Linked DNA regions of Homo sapiens: all the other regions are linked to region 3. Evidence: promoter capture Hi-C in 16 types of primary human blood cells and fetal thymus (Javierre and others, 2016). All regions are on one chromosome and are shown on one strand. The core of a region is centred on a gene start or on the middle of the fragment in contact, and the rest is flanking DNA. Distances in the headings are between cores, read along the strand shown. Region 1 overlaps EPHA1-AS1 (EPHA1 antisense RNA 1). Region 2 overlaps EPHA1-AS1 (EPHA1 antisense RNA 1). Region 3 holds the start of FAM131B (family with sequence similarity 131 member B).

Region 1 (4,380 bases), core at 68-2,567, 93 kb after region 3:
TGTTTCTGCCACTCCGTTCTTCTAGTTTCTCTGGGCAAAACCTTTTGCATTCCATGAAGAATCATTCAGCAACCCTGATGCTAGACCATTTAACCTAGAGCTAAAGCATTGGTAGATGACCTGCTTCTGGGTTGTGGTTTCATATGGAGAAAGCTGTCCTTTCACTCCAGTCTTTTGAAAGCCAGACCTTGACACAAGGGTTTGAAAAAGTCAGGGTTAGAGTTGAGGTTGTTAACTCAACCTTCAAAATGAATCTGTAACTCTACTGCTTATCACCACCTCCATTGCTACTGCTCTGGTGCAAGCCACTATAACTCTAGCTTGGATTATTGCAATGGCTTCCTAACTGGTTTTGCAGCTTCTGCTCTTGTTTGCCTTTGGTCTATTTCCAATACAACAAGCCAGCAGGATCCCTGAAAAATATAAATCATATCATGTCACATCTCTTTCATAATTCTGGATTTGCTTTTCATCCTAGAGTAAAAGCTTAAGTCTTCATAATGAACTAAAATGCCCTCTATAATCCATGTGCCCTATCTCATGTTTCTGAAGTCATCTGTTGCTGTTTTACCCTCCTCTCACACTGAGCTCATCCCTTTGGCTTTCTCGATGTTCCTTGAATTTGTCCAAAGTCTTTGCATTCTCTGTGCTTGGAATGCTATTCCCAGATATTAGCATGGCTCACTCCCTCACTTATTTCAGGAATTGTCATTGCTACTCTATCTAAATTGCAATACCCTGTACTACTATTCCCTGTCCTGTTTTTTTCTCCTTAGTATTACCACTATCTCTTTTACTTATTTATATTTTTTATGGTTTATTTCCCCCACTCTAATGTAAGCTTCTCGAAGACAGGGATTTGTGTCTGTTTTGTTTTTACTGGCAAATTGTAGGCACTCAATAAATATTTGCTGAACACATGCATACATTATTTTATTATAATTAACTAGACTACTATTATTATGCAACAGGTCATCATTTCTATGCTTGTAGAAATGGGCGTGGCTGCTAGAAGCTGGATCATCAATTGATATTCTCTTACACATTCAGAAACTGGTGATTTTGCTGGTTCACTGATACAACACTGAGCCTCCACATTTTTCACAGTTGTTGTTAGAGACGAGTAATTGCTTCCATGTTCATATACATCTTAACAAGCATTTATTGATCACTTTGATATGGAGGTCTAGGTGTACATCCCTGCTAAGTGCAATGGGGTTATAAAAGTAGGATCTTAACATTCAAGAAATTTACCATGCAACATATATACACCAGTTAAAGGAGTACGAAGCAGTGAAGAGCTGAAGTGACCACTAATGAAGTATAATATAATAGTTCATATTTGACCCTAGTACTGAGAGAATTATAAAATGGAAACTAATCGGATACAGTCCATTATTTAGTATTACTTATTTGTAATATTTTGCTGCAAATTTTGTACTTTTCAAATACTTGATATTGGGGTTTCTGTTTATCTTTGATAGTAATCTATTAGGTTCGACATTTCTTAAAGTCATGCATGGCCTCCTTTTCTGAACTCTTGTATACTTAGGCCCATATCGCTGGCCACTCTATTGTGATTCACTCAAGTGAATGGGGGTAATCTTGAGATTAAAAAAGTCACAAGAACAAGACCTCAGATAGGAGGAGGGTTGTGAGGGAAACTGGATCTTTGAAGTGAAATCAGAATTGTGAGGCAGAGAGGGAGCTTCTGCTCATGGGGTTGGCCTCTGTCACAGGCTTGTAATGATTCTGAGTTTCAATGGTGTGGATGGCTGGCCTTGGTGACAGATAAAAGCTTTCGAAACTGGGCTTCAGCAGTAGGCAGCTGAATGCATTTGGAACTTTAGTTAGCTGAGCTGACTGATGCATCTTTTAACTATAAATAATACTTGTTCTGGACTATAGTGATGGAAATCGAAGGCTAGTTGGGGGTAGGGGACTGTGTGTGGGGACAGTTCTTTTTGAAAACTTTTATTTTTCTTTCAGTAAGCCAAACAATTTTTAAAAAGAGGTTGAATAAACTATTTAAAATACACTATTTACATGATACTTTCATTATCTATTTTGCTCAAGGTGATTTTTTTAAAATATGAAACTGCTCCTATGTACTCAGATTGTTATACCTTTTACATCAAAACTAAATTGCAATAGTTTGTTTGTTTGGTTTTGAGATAAGTTCTCACTCTGTTCCCCAGGCTGAGCATAGTGGTGCAATCGTGGCTTACTGCAGCTTCAAACTCCTGGGCTCAAAGGATCCTCCCACCTCAGCCTCCTTGAATAGCTGAGACTATAAGCGCATACCACCATGCCCTACTAATTATTTTTCATTTTTTGTAGAGATGTAGTTTTGCCCTGTTGCGCAGGCTGTCTCAAACTCCTGGTCTGAAGTGATGCGCCTGCCTCAATCTCTCAAAGTACTGAGATTATAGGCATGAACCACCGTGCCCAACCAAGTGCAATGTTTTTGAGGACAAGATAGATTTCTGCCTCCAGTGGCAGTATAATTTTCATAAAATAAGGGATTAGGACTTTACTTTTAAAAGTTGGTGGCTTCCAAATCTGCTGACAAACTCCTTGAGGGGCTATGATTTGGGTCCACACCAAAAGCAGCATCTGTTTAATTCTGTAGGGATCAAGTACAAGAAGACTGTTGTCTTTATTGTTGGAAAGTTTCAAATGGAGAAGAAAAGTAGCTGATCCAAATTGGTCCACATTGGACCAGCTACTTTAGAGTTGGGAAGCATTTAAATTTTAACTCCTCTGTACTATAATTGAGGAATCTGTAAGAAAGTTGGGGGAAAAGCTGTATTTCTCAAGTTAAAGCCAATGGCTTATATTTATCCGAGTCAATAACATTACATTTTCCATTATCTGTGTTTGGGAATTTTTATTACAGGTATTCTTATGGTGAAGTTTTACTGATCCATTATTTTTTAATTTTAGTTTTGAAAAATGTCACCACCAACCTGTGGTGATGGGACCAGATATATTCAGGGGTTCCAACAAGTAAGAGTGAAAATGTCTTTGTATGTACAACATACTCTGCAGACATTCCAGTAGCCCACGGCTTTAGGTGAGGAGGATCATGAAGATGAAAATGTATACATGTTTCTTCTCAACATTTCCAAGCTAAATGCAAGCTTTACTGCTTCTATCATAGCATCTATTTAAAGTTTTGCCAACTCAGTCTCCTTGAATAACCAAATATTGAAAGCATCTGTACCAAAATATGTAGTGACACATCAAGATTATTTTAAAAAGGAAAAGCAACTAACCTCATTCATTCAACAAATATTTCCTTTGTGCCACTATGTGGGGGATGCAGGGGTTGAAGAAGATCCTTGTCCATTGAGAGAACAACGTGTGTCTCCCTATAAAACAAAGAGAAGTGTCTGAAATTAAAGCATGTATTTAAGTGATTAAGACCTTATACTGTGTTCAGCAAACATTCTTTGAGCAAATCCTTTTGAGAATCAGAAGATGAATGATCATGAACACTTTGTGAGGAAGAATCAATGAGTCACAGGTGCTGATGAATGAAAGAATCATAAACTTTAGAAATTCTTAAACATTTTTACTAGAGCAGTGAAAGAGAGAAATATTGCATAGTCTTGGCTATAAAGAATGTATAGTCCTTCAGATACAATGAGCAGCTCAGTAGTTGCTTGTGGAACATTTTACAACTACAGAATGACCCAGAGGCAGAGCCACGTGCCTTGCTGCAGTTGCAGGTACATGCACTCAACAGCATGTCCATGAACCCTGTTCTCTTCTGGAGGGTCTACGTGGCAGAAGCTCTGGCTCTTTCACATCAAGAAGGATCTTAAATTCTGGAGCAATGGCTCATACCTATAATCCCAGCACTTTGAGAGGCTGATGCAGGCAGATCGCTTGAGTCCAGGAGTTCCAGGCTAGTCTGGGCAACATAGCAAAATCCCATCTCTACAAAAAGTACAATTAGCCAGGTGTGGTCGCATGCGCCTGTGGTCCCAGCTACTCAGGAGGCTGAGAAGGGAGGATTGCTTGAGCCCGGGGAGGTCAAGGCTGCAGTGAGCTGTGATCACACCACTGCACTCCAGTCTGGGTGACAGAGTGCAGTCCCTGTCCTAAAATCAACAGCATTCTCATTCGAGTAAAAAATAATTAAACCTTGAGATATTTTCCTCTGCTTTCCTATGCTCTCCATTCACATTTCTTTGCTGAGTTTAAACCTTGGATTCTAAATTCTGCTTAAGTTCTACTGTCTTATAGATAATCGGAAAAGTTAAGTGGTTTCCCAAGGAGGACTCTGCTCCTGGCCTGTTTGCTCCAGCTTGGTCTAGCCCTATGATTGTTGTCTTTGACTCCCTCCTTGACTTGCAGTATTGATCTACATTG
Region 2 (4,376 bases), core at 1,010-3,509, 73 kb after region 3:
ATCATGCCCAGCTGATTTTTTTTTGTATTTTTAGTAGAGACGGGATTTCACTATGTTGGCCAGGCTGGTCTTGAACACCTGACCTTGTGATCTGCCCGCCTTGCCCTCCCAAAGTGTTGGGATTACAGGGGTGAGCCACTGCACTTGGCCTCAAAAATCTTTCACAGTTAATTTAGAAGAGTTTTGGGGAGCAAAGGAAAGAAGGTGGGTTGATGCAATCTGTCCTTACCCCTCTTGTTGACTTTGGATCTATCTATGGTAGCGGTTTAAAATTTGTTTCTTGCAATGGAGTTCTTTCTTTGAAATAGTATGTAGAAGCTCAGTATATAAAATACATATAAGCAGGACTGCTGTGTTTGAAAAGGAAATGAGGGTTTATGGTTCTACTTTCTCAGTTCTCCTCTTACCCTTTCCCTACCATGAGAACTCCCTGGAAAGCATAATTTGTAAACCACTGATTTAGAAATTATCGAACATAACTTATCCCTCCAGTAGATGTTAGACATTGAGTGAAGTTCATGGCATTATGGGAAGAACGTTTGATTTATTCCTTTAGAGATTAATTTTATTGCTTCTAAATGCTCGAATGGAGCAAGGCAAAGAGAAAGATTCATTCTAAAGATCTTTTAGTTGAAATAGAATTGGACTCAACTTCCTTGCAGGCTAACTTTATAATTACAAAAATAACTATCAAATGCTATTTTTTATTTGAGAGGAAAGTCTGTAGATTTACCTGAATATTAAACGATATTCAACTGTACATTCACATTTTGATAATGGAAGATGTTAGAAATTCCCAAATTTACTTTCAGAAAGCTAAAATTCTCTATTATGCCGGATTGCTATTACAGCCAATGTTTATTCTAAATTACTTACTTAAATATAAGAGTCAGAGGAAGTCTTCAGGGTGAGAAAAAATATTTAGGGCTTATCTTGCAGGGAAATCATTATTAAATTTGTGCATAGTTTAGCTTAACATTTATGTGCAGTCTAGCCATTAAAAACATTGTTATTTCCTTTTTCCTCCACCTTTCCCTGGAGTGGGCCATCAGTTACCCGATAAAGCCATGGAAATACGTGGAAGTATTTATGCAATGCACGTCACTCAAAGGTTCAGTTGGGAATGGGCACCAAGATTGAGAAACCTGTCAAATGAAATGTATTTTTGTATGTCTCTAAGATGAACCAAGAATTCATTCTCTAAGAATTCAAGAATGTATTCTTGAATGTGATAAGAAAAAGAAAATAAAAACAAAAAACAAACGAATCAACAGAAACCAAAAAGCACTTTACTGGTGTAGAGGACTAACGTGAGGGAAGTGCCAGTAGCTCTTTGCAGAATCTTCCATTTTAATCCAGTCTTCTGCTGTTACCTGTTTACCATTACTACCATTTCACAGAAGACTCAGACTTCATCCTAAAAAACTATCTCCAGTCATGCTGCAGAAAATAATTCGTTAGCTTCAGCTGCAGGAATGAGACACCTTTAAAAAAGAGAAATGTGACCCAAACTTTTGTGAGAAACACCTTGTATTTTGATTGCTATTTCACATTCGAAGGACTCTTGAAAAACAGAAAAAACCTAAAACATCATCTTGCTTATGGTATCTTTTGGTGGCAGACTATGAATGGGACATGGGACCCCCATAAGATATATCTAGTGAAGCACTGAGAGATGGATAAACAGGTGCCTGCGGGAAAGGTACTCTTTCAGCCTTCTTATAGAAGAGTATTGAAACAGGAGAAAATGTTTACTTTCTAGAGCTATCAACTGTAGAAAGGAAAAGTCCTGGGGAAGACTTGTTCTGGCAAAGTGCACGCTTTGGCACCTCTGCAGAGAACATGAAGTTTGCCCGCAAACATTAGATGTCTACTTGGTTACACGTGACCGCAACAGGGCGTGTGTACCATGGCCTCAGCTCGCTTCTTGATGACATCATGAATCTGGGCTCCGGCCAAAGGATTTTGAGACGAGCCAAAATGCTGTGGAGCATGCAGAAGCCACTCATTGCTGTTGTCTTCAAGAAGCCAGAGGAAGACATGCAAAGAATTAAAGAAAGACGCTGAAGCTGTGTTACAAAACAGTTGATCAGGTTGAATTATCCGCTCTCTAACAATCTTTTGAGAGTTCAATAAAAACTAGCAGCTCTTCAATTAGCCGGGCGTGGTGGCGGGCGCCTGTAGTCCCAGCTACTCCGGAGGCTGAGGCAGGAGAATGGCGTGAACCCGGGAGGTGGAGCTTGCAGTGAGCCAAGATCAAACCACTGCACTCCAGCCTGGGCGACAGAGCGAGACTCCGTCTCAAAACAAACAAACAAACAAACAAACAAGCAGCTCTTCAAGCAATTGCTATATTCGAGAGCTGAACCTCTTTTTCTTGAAGTCGCCACCACAAGTGTTTGTCCTTGTTTTTATTTCTCTTTAATCTTTCACACACAGGCCTCTCTCACCTGTAGAATCTTGAGTGAGACCATGGGAAGTAGGCAAGGCTATTTTCTGTGACTCATCTTGGTGGAGAGCCCTGACTCCAAGATCTGAGACATTTGCCAGGGGATTCCCTTCCCTGTTTTTCTATCCACACCTCTGCTTTCTTCTACCCTCCTTCTCTCTCTTCCCTCTTAACCCTTTTGTTTTTACTTTTTCCACATTCATAGGCATTCTTTCCTCAGTTGAACCTGTCCTCATGGCTCCCTGAGCCTGGGTTGGCTGATCTGAACCAGTGTCATTTTGTGTGGTTGGCGGTAAAGGCCAAATGTAAGATGTGTGAAATCACTTTAAAAATGACAAGGTGGGGCCCTATGCAGTGGCTCACACCTGTAATCCAAGCACTTTGGGAGGCCAAGGCGGGCAGATCACAAGGTCAAGAGATCAAGATCATCCTGGCCAACATGATGAAACCCCTTCTCTACTAAAAATCCAAAAATTAGCGGGGCATGGTGGCACATGCCTGTAGTCCCAGCTACTTGGGAGGCTGAGGCAGGAGAGTTGCTTGAACCCGGGAGGCAGAGGTTGCAGTGAGCCGAGATCACATCACCGCACTCCAGCCTGGCGACAGAGTGAGACTGTCAAAAAAAAAAAAAAAAAAAAAGACAAGGTGTTTCAGCAGGGTGGTTTTTACTATTATATATTCAGTATTGTTATAGGACAGGGCTCACTCCACATAAAGCAAAACTTCCCTGTGGCCCAGCTTTGCCCTGAGCTCCTCTTGTCATTCCACCAACTCTTGCTTCCCCCAGCTCCTATGGTGATGTCCCCTCTGGGTCAGTTTCCCTTCTCTGTCTTTCTCGTCTTCTCATTATGATTTATCTACTCTCTCTCATTTCCTCAGAGGCTTCTTAGGAACTGATTACTTTTGGTTGATCAAGCACTCTGGAGCCAAGGGGATAACAGTTAACAGATGATGGTAACATATCAGAGAAATCCACATTTTAACTGGAGATTCCATGAACTCCAATATGGAGCTTGACAGTGAAATTTTAGGCAGCATGAGAGGCCAGTGGTTAGGGGGCCTTTTCTTGGTAATGTGAAGCCTTGTGCATGCGAATGATTTTTCTGTTCCACCCATTCGGGAAGTGAGCTAAGGCAGTGTATAGAGGCTACTGAATAAAATATTAAGGCAGGACGTGAAGGGAAGGTTTTTGGTTTGGGGAGGGCAATAAGAGTAACAATGTCTTTTAAAGAAGAGTTAGGAAAGAAATAGTACAGTTAAGACATCATGTACAAAATGTGGGTATTTTCAGTCACCCCAGCAGCCTCTATTCTGTTAATGTTTCTCTGCATCTGGCTCTGAGAAAGGACAGGCAAATACAGGTTATGCAAATAGAGATGGTGTCATTGAGCTGGGAGTGATTTGCATGCCAAAGGAGATTGCAGAAATTATCTTTTCAAATTCTGGGGACTGGGGGTGTTTGCTGGTGGCTGGGATTTTCTATGAATCCAGGGACAAGGGCTTCTGAGTCTCTGGTGTCAACAAGGTGGCTTGACTCAGCCAGAGAGGCTGTTTTTCCCTGAAGATGTGTCCCAGCCCTCTGCAGTAGGAGCTGAGACTTAGCAGAACCTCCCTGGAGAAGATGCCCTCCTTGCCCACGTTGATCTTCATAGCCATCTTTTGCCTGGAGTCATTGGCTGCAATGCTGCAGAATGGATTCTTGGTCACAATGCTGGGCAGGGAGTGGGTAAGGTGCCGGATGCTGTCCACAAGTGACATGATTGTGGCCTGTCTCGCTGCCTCCCGTTTCTGCCTGCATGGGGTAGCCATGGTGAACAACCTCCTGGCCTCCTTAGATTTTTCGCGTGCAGTTCCCTATATGAACATCTTCTGGGACCTTTTCAATGCCCTCACTTTGTGGTTTACTGCCTTGCTTGCTGCTTTCTAC
Region 3 (4,295 bases), core at 717-3,216:
GGAGGGAAGCTGGTGAGCAGGAGGAGAAAAGAGAACTTTTTAAAATAGGAATTAAGAAAATAGGAATTCAAGTCAGAGAGAAGACAGAAGATGGTGGGAGGGGTGGACAGGGTCTGAGGGCTGAGTGGGAAACTGCAGGACTCAGGGGAAGGAGGGTCCTTGTTACAGCCGGGCCAGAGCTCCTGGTGGAGGGAGACTCCTGGACTGAGGGCAGGATGGTGCCGCGGAGAGTCTTGCGGAAGAACTGCTTGGGTCTTCATAAAGGGACTATTCAAGCAGCAGATGGCTGCCTGAACCATCTGACCGTACAGGCCCTTTATACTCATGAGGTTTTACAATTGTGAGTTTAGGGGTCGGCTCCATTTTTGGGAAGGGGAGCATTGAATGGGGCTGGGCACGAGGAGGCATTCAGCACATCAGCAGGGCTGGGGGAAAGGAAGGGGCTTGTGGTGAACCGGACTGAGGAGGGAGGACCCTCCAAAGTTGGCCTGCTGTCCCCTGGGGCTCCGCGGGGTGGTGACTGGGGGAAAAGAGGAAAGATGGCCCTCCGGACACAGCAGGAATGGGGCAGGTGGAGAAGAGCCTGAGGAGAAGGGAGACAGGGGAGGGCGGGGTGCGGGGGGAGAGGGGAGCGGGAGGTGGCCTTTGTGAGAGACGGAGAGCTGAGTCAGAGCTGTGGGGGGCAGCGGGGAGGGAGAGAGCCGCGGAGAAGGGGTGAAAGCAGAGGAGGAGGGGGTATCCATGGAAATAAACCGGGTCTCAGGGAAATCAGGCTTCTGGAGAGTGAGTTTGTTTGTAATAATAATACGAATTATTCTCTCAGCCTGAGGTCACCGGGAGGTGTAGGCGGGAGAAATTGGGAGTTGGAAAGGGGAAGAATGGGGGAGGGGGTGGGAGAGGGCCGGATGAATTCGCTGAGCGGCGAGAGTGGAGTGGGTGCCTGGGTGGGGGTCAGGGGCGGTAGCCAGGCAGAAGCTGGAGGGAGAAGATGGATTAGGAGGCGCCTCTCTTCCCTCCCCGCGTCAAAGGTAAATAAAGAGCCGGCCCCGCCCCGCCGGCCCCCGCTGACAGGTGCAGGCGGGTCCCCGGCCGCCGAGGCAGGGCCGGCCCCACCCTCCCGGGCCGCGGGCTCCCGACCCCTCCCAGCGCCTCGAAGCCCCCATCTCCTCCCCGCGTCCCCCAGCCCCTTCCCTCCACCCGGCCCTGGCCCTGTCCCTCCGGGCGTGGAACCCGGGCTCATCCCGCCCCCGCCCCAGAGGGAAAACGCACGTGAACAAAGCGAATCGGAGGAGGCAGGAACGACAGTAAAAGGCAACGGAGAGGGAGAGAGAGATGGGGCAAAGCACCCGAGCCAGATGGAGGCGGCGGCGGGGGGTGGCGTGGGGGGCGTGCGAAAGAAACTCGGGGCTGGCGCGGAGGCCGAGGGTCCTTCGCGGGGGGCTGCTCCGGAGTGGGGGATGCGAGGAGGCGCTGGGGACGGCGGAGCAGAGGCGGATGGCCTGGAGGGGCAGGGATGAGGGGACCGAGCGTCGGGCCGAGAGGCAGAGGAGAGGAGGGCGATGGAGAGGATGGAGAGGACCGCGCCTGCGGGAGGGCGACGGGGAGAAGGAAGCGAGCCGAGCGGGATGGCAGCCCCGGAGGCGCAAGACGAGAGCGGGCAGGAAGGAGGGACAGAGGGACCGCGGGCGGACGGAAGGAAAGTGAAGGAGCTAGCAGGGCAAGGCGGGTGCGGAGCGGGGCGCCCGGAGGCGCGAGGAGAGGGATGGGGGAGGGGGTCGGAGGGCGGCCCGGGGGGCCCAGCCCTGCCCCCGCCCGGCCGCGGTACCCACCCACAGTCCGGGAGCCGATGCAGCCCATGGCTCCGGGGGCCGCAGAGCCGGGCCCTCACCGACTCGGGGCGCGCGCCGGGGGGAGCACCGGGAGCCGCGCCGCCGCCCCAGCCGCTCTGCAGCGCCGCGGCTGTCTCCGCTCGGCTCCGCTCCCCCCTCCCCTCTCCATCCCTCCCCACGGCAGCTCCGTCGCCGCCGCCGCCGCCGCCGCCGCCGCCGCCTGGCTCCCCCGCCCCGGCTCGGCTCGCCGCGGCCGGGGAGGGGGCGGCCCGGGGATTGGCTGCGCCCCGCGCCTCCCCGCCCCTGCTCCGGCCGTGCCGGGGCGCTCCCTCGGGGATCTGGGGCCGCCGTCGCCGCCCCCCTCCTCCCGCCCGTGCCAAGCCCCGCTCCCGGGGCTCTCTCCTGGAGAACCCCGGCTTGGGTTTCAGGAGCCGAGGCACGAACCCAGGGCCTACCCCGAGGTTCTGGTTGATGGATTTTGCGGGCCGGGGTCAGGGGATGCCCTGAGAGAAAGTGGGGTGGTGGTGAGAATAAAGCCAGGCCCAAGGGCCTTTGGCCACCAAATTCCGCAAACACTTGTTTTCCTCCTGGGGCCGCATCTGGGACACACACAGGAACGTGATTGGACACAGCTTTGGGCTCTGTTGTTTCGAGTGCGCTATTTTGTCCATCCAAACAGAAGGTGAAGTCTTTGCAAGTGAATCGTGTAGTCCACTTCTCTGTGCTCGCTGGACATTCAGGGGTGGGTGTGGGGATGTGCAGATAGTTGACCTCCAGGCCTGGTTGGGGATTGGAGAATATGAGGAGGACAGTTCATTCGCAGTAGACTAACAACAATGTCAGGACCCGAGGCTGGCTAGGAGACATCGTCTTGAATCCAGTTTAACTTTTCTGAGACGTGATCTTCTCGGACAAATGAAAGCAAGGCGGTCCCGAAGCAGCAAAGAGAGAGAAAGATTGGCCTCTGGCTAGTGGGACTGGGCCAGGTAGATACCTCAAGCCCCATGGGGAGGAGATGAAGGTCTAAGTTGCAAGGGTTAAATGAGCACTGTGGTTACAGCAGGTAAGAAGTGGAGTCCAGAAAAGATGCATGAGAAAGGGCAAGGAGACCCTTTTGTCTAAGGTGTACCCAGAAAGCCCAAAGTGTGAGAGAGTGGGCAGGTGGGCATTCACAGAAGCAAGTGCCCATCCAGGCTCTGACTGCACCTCGCCCACTTTTAGGTCTCTCCGAGGTTGCAGAGAGAGAAGGCAATGGGCCAGGGGTCCCTGGTGTGGGCTCCTAACAGGGAGGCTAAGTCTTATGGATGCAACTTTCTAACCTTTAGATTATGAATGGAGAGCTACATCCCATGGGGTGGCAGATGAAGATGTGCAAGAAGAAGACACTAACAACTGAATTGCAGATTGAGGAGATGAGATTATGGTGACAGAATCCATCTTCGGTGTATGTGCATGAAGAAATAAGCCAAATCTACATCTATAAAACCGCGGGAAGGAATGAGATAATAATCAGTTGCAGGTCTGCTTAGATTTTAATCGTTTAGTGTAGTTCGTGGCAGGGTCTGATACCCTATTTCAATAGTGGAGAGAATTAGAAAGCATTTTCTTTTTTCATATCTACTATTATTGGTTATATAAAAGAAGTATCAAATAGTTTCTGCTTTCATGGAATATACTGTCCAGTCGCAAAGGAAAGAAGATGGAGAGATGATTAAAAAAAAAAAAAAGAACAAACAGCTTCCATTATTCTAGCAATGCCCACACACCCCTATTGTTTGAGCAGAGAAAACGCTGACAGGGGACTGGCCAGGTAAGGAGGAACAGACCACGTGGCCATTATGCTCTTGCCTTCCCACCTGAAACTTCTGTCTCCTTATGGCTCTCCCTGAGTAATACATATATTTATATATGACTACGTATCTCTTACTGTGGTTCCAACTTGGATGCAAACCTCTCCCCTTGGTCTCCTTAACACAACTATATAAGGCTGCATTTATCCAAATGATTTAACATGAGGGATTCCAGGTCTTGGAGACTCAGTCCCATCTTGCATTCTGTCTTGAAGGTATTTCCAGTCCCTCCCCACTACCCACACAAAAAAAGTAAAATATTCTAGGCATATTCCTGGCCAGCTTCCTTCCTGCTCCCTATAGGTCTTCTTATACAAGGATTCTGCTACTTCTCACTAGTTAAGGCCATTGTCCCAGTCTCCTTGCCAAAGAGGTCCAGGGCACAAAAAAAGTTTAAGAACTTCTGGACTTTAAATACATACTTGGCGGGGGGGTTCTCTAATTCTGCAGGGGCTTAACCCCCAAATAAAATGATCAGGCAAGACACTTATCCCATTTTGAAGCTGGGGTCCCCAGGAATAATTGTAGGTACTTCGGTGGTACCTGCAGGATTGAAAGAAGGTACCAAAGCTTCACACTGATCCCCACAAATGGAGAGATGGCTCCAAAACACAAC

Evidence for each region. The method cuts DNA at HindIII sites, captures the fragments that hold promoters and counts their contacts. A CHiCAGO score of 5 or more calls a contact.
Region 1: a fragment that was not itself captured here is called in contact with the fragment with the promoter of FAM131B in region 3 in 1 of 17 cell types (M0 macrophages); the score reaches 5.1 in M0 macrophages.
Region 2: a contact is called between a fragment that was not itself captured here and the fragment with the promoter of FAM131B in region 3, in 1 of 17 cell types (neutrophils). The highest score is 5.1, in neutrophils.

What each region holds. Positions count from the first base shown.
Region 1 is chr7:143,453,930-143,458,309 of GRCh38, forward strand. The region is part of intron 2 of EPHA1-AS1 (EPHA1 antisense RNA 1); the gene reads left to right. Among named protein-coding and RNA genes, the nearest start is that of TAS2R60, 13 kb to the left of the region's middle. The HindIII fragment of the contact is 957 bases long and covers 840-1,796 here.
Region 2 is chr7:143,432,965-143,437,340 of GRCh38, forward strand. The region is part of intron 2 of EPHA1-AS1 (EPHA1 antisense RNA 1); the gene reads left to right. It also overlaps the pseudogene TAS2R62P. Among named protein-coding and RNA genes, the nearest start is that of TAS2R60, 8.3 kb to the right of the region's middle. The HindIII fragment of the contact is 6,221 bases long and covers 1-4,376 here.
Region 3 is chr7:143,360,747-143,365,041 of GRCh38, forward strand. FAM131B (family with sequence similarity 131 member B) reads right to left here and starts at 1,967. Exons shown (of 7, transcript NM_001031690.3): 1 at 1,830-1,967. The coding sequence starts at 1,857. It overlaps FAM131B-AS1 (FAM131B antisense RNA 1), which reads left to right and starts at 960. Exons shown (of 3, transcript NR_183342.1): 1 at 960-1,311; 2 at 2,444-2,511; 3 at 3,155-3,519. The HindIII fragment of the contact is 5,612 bases long and covers 1-4,247 here.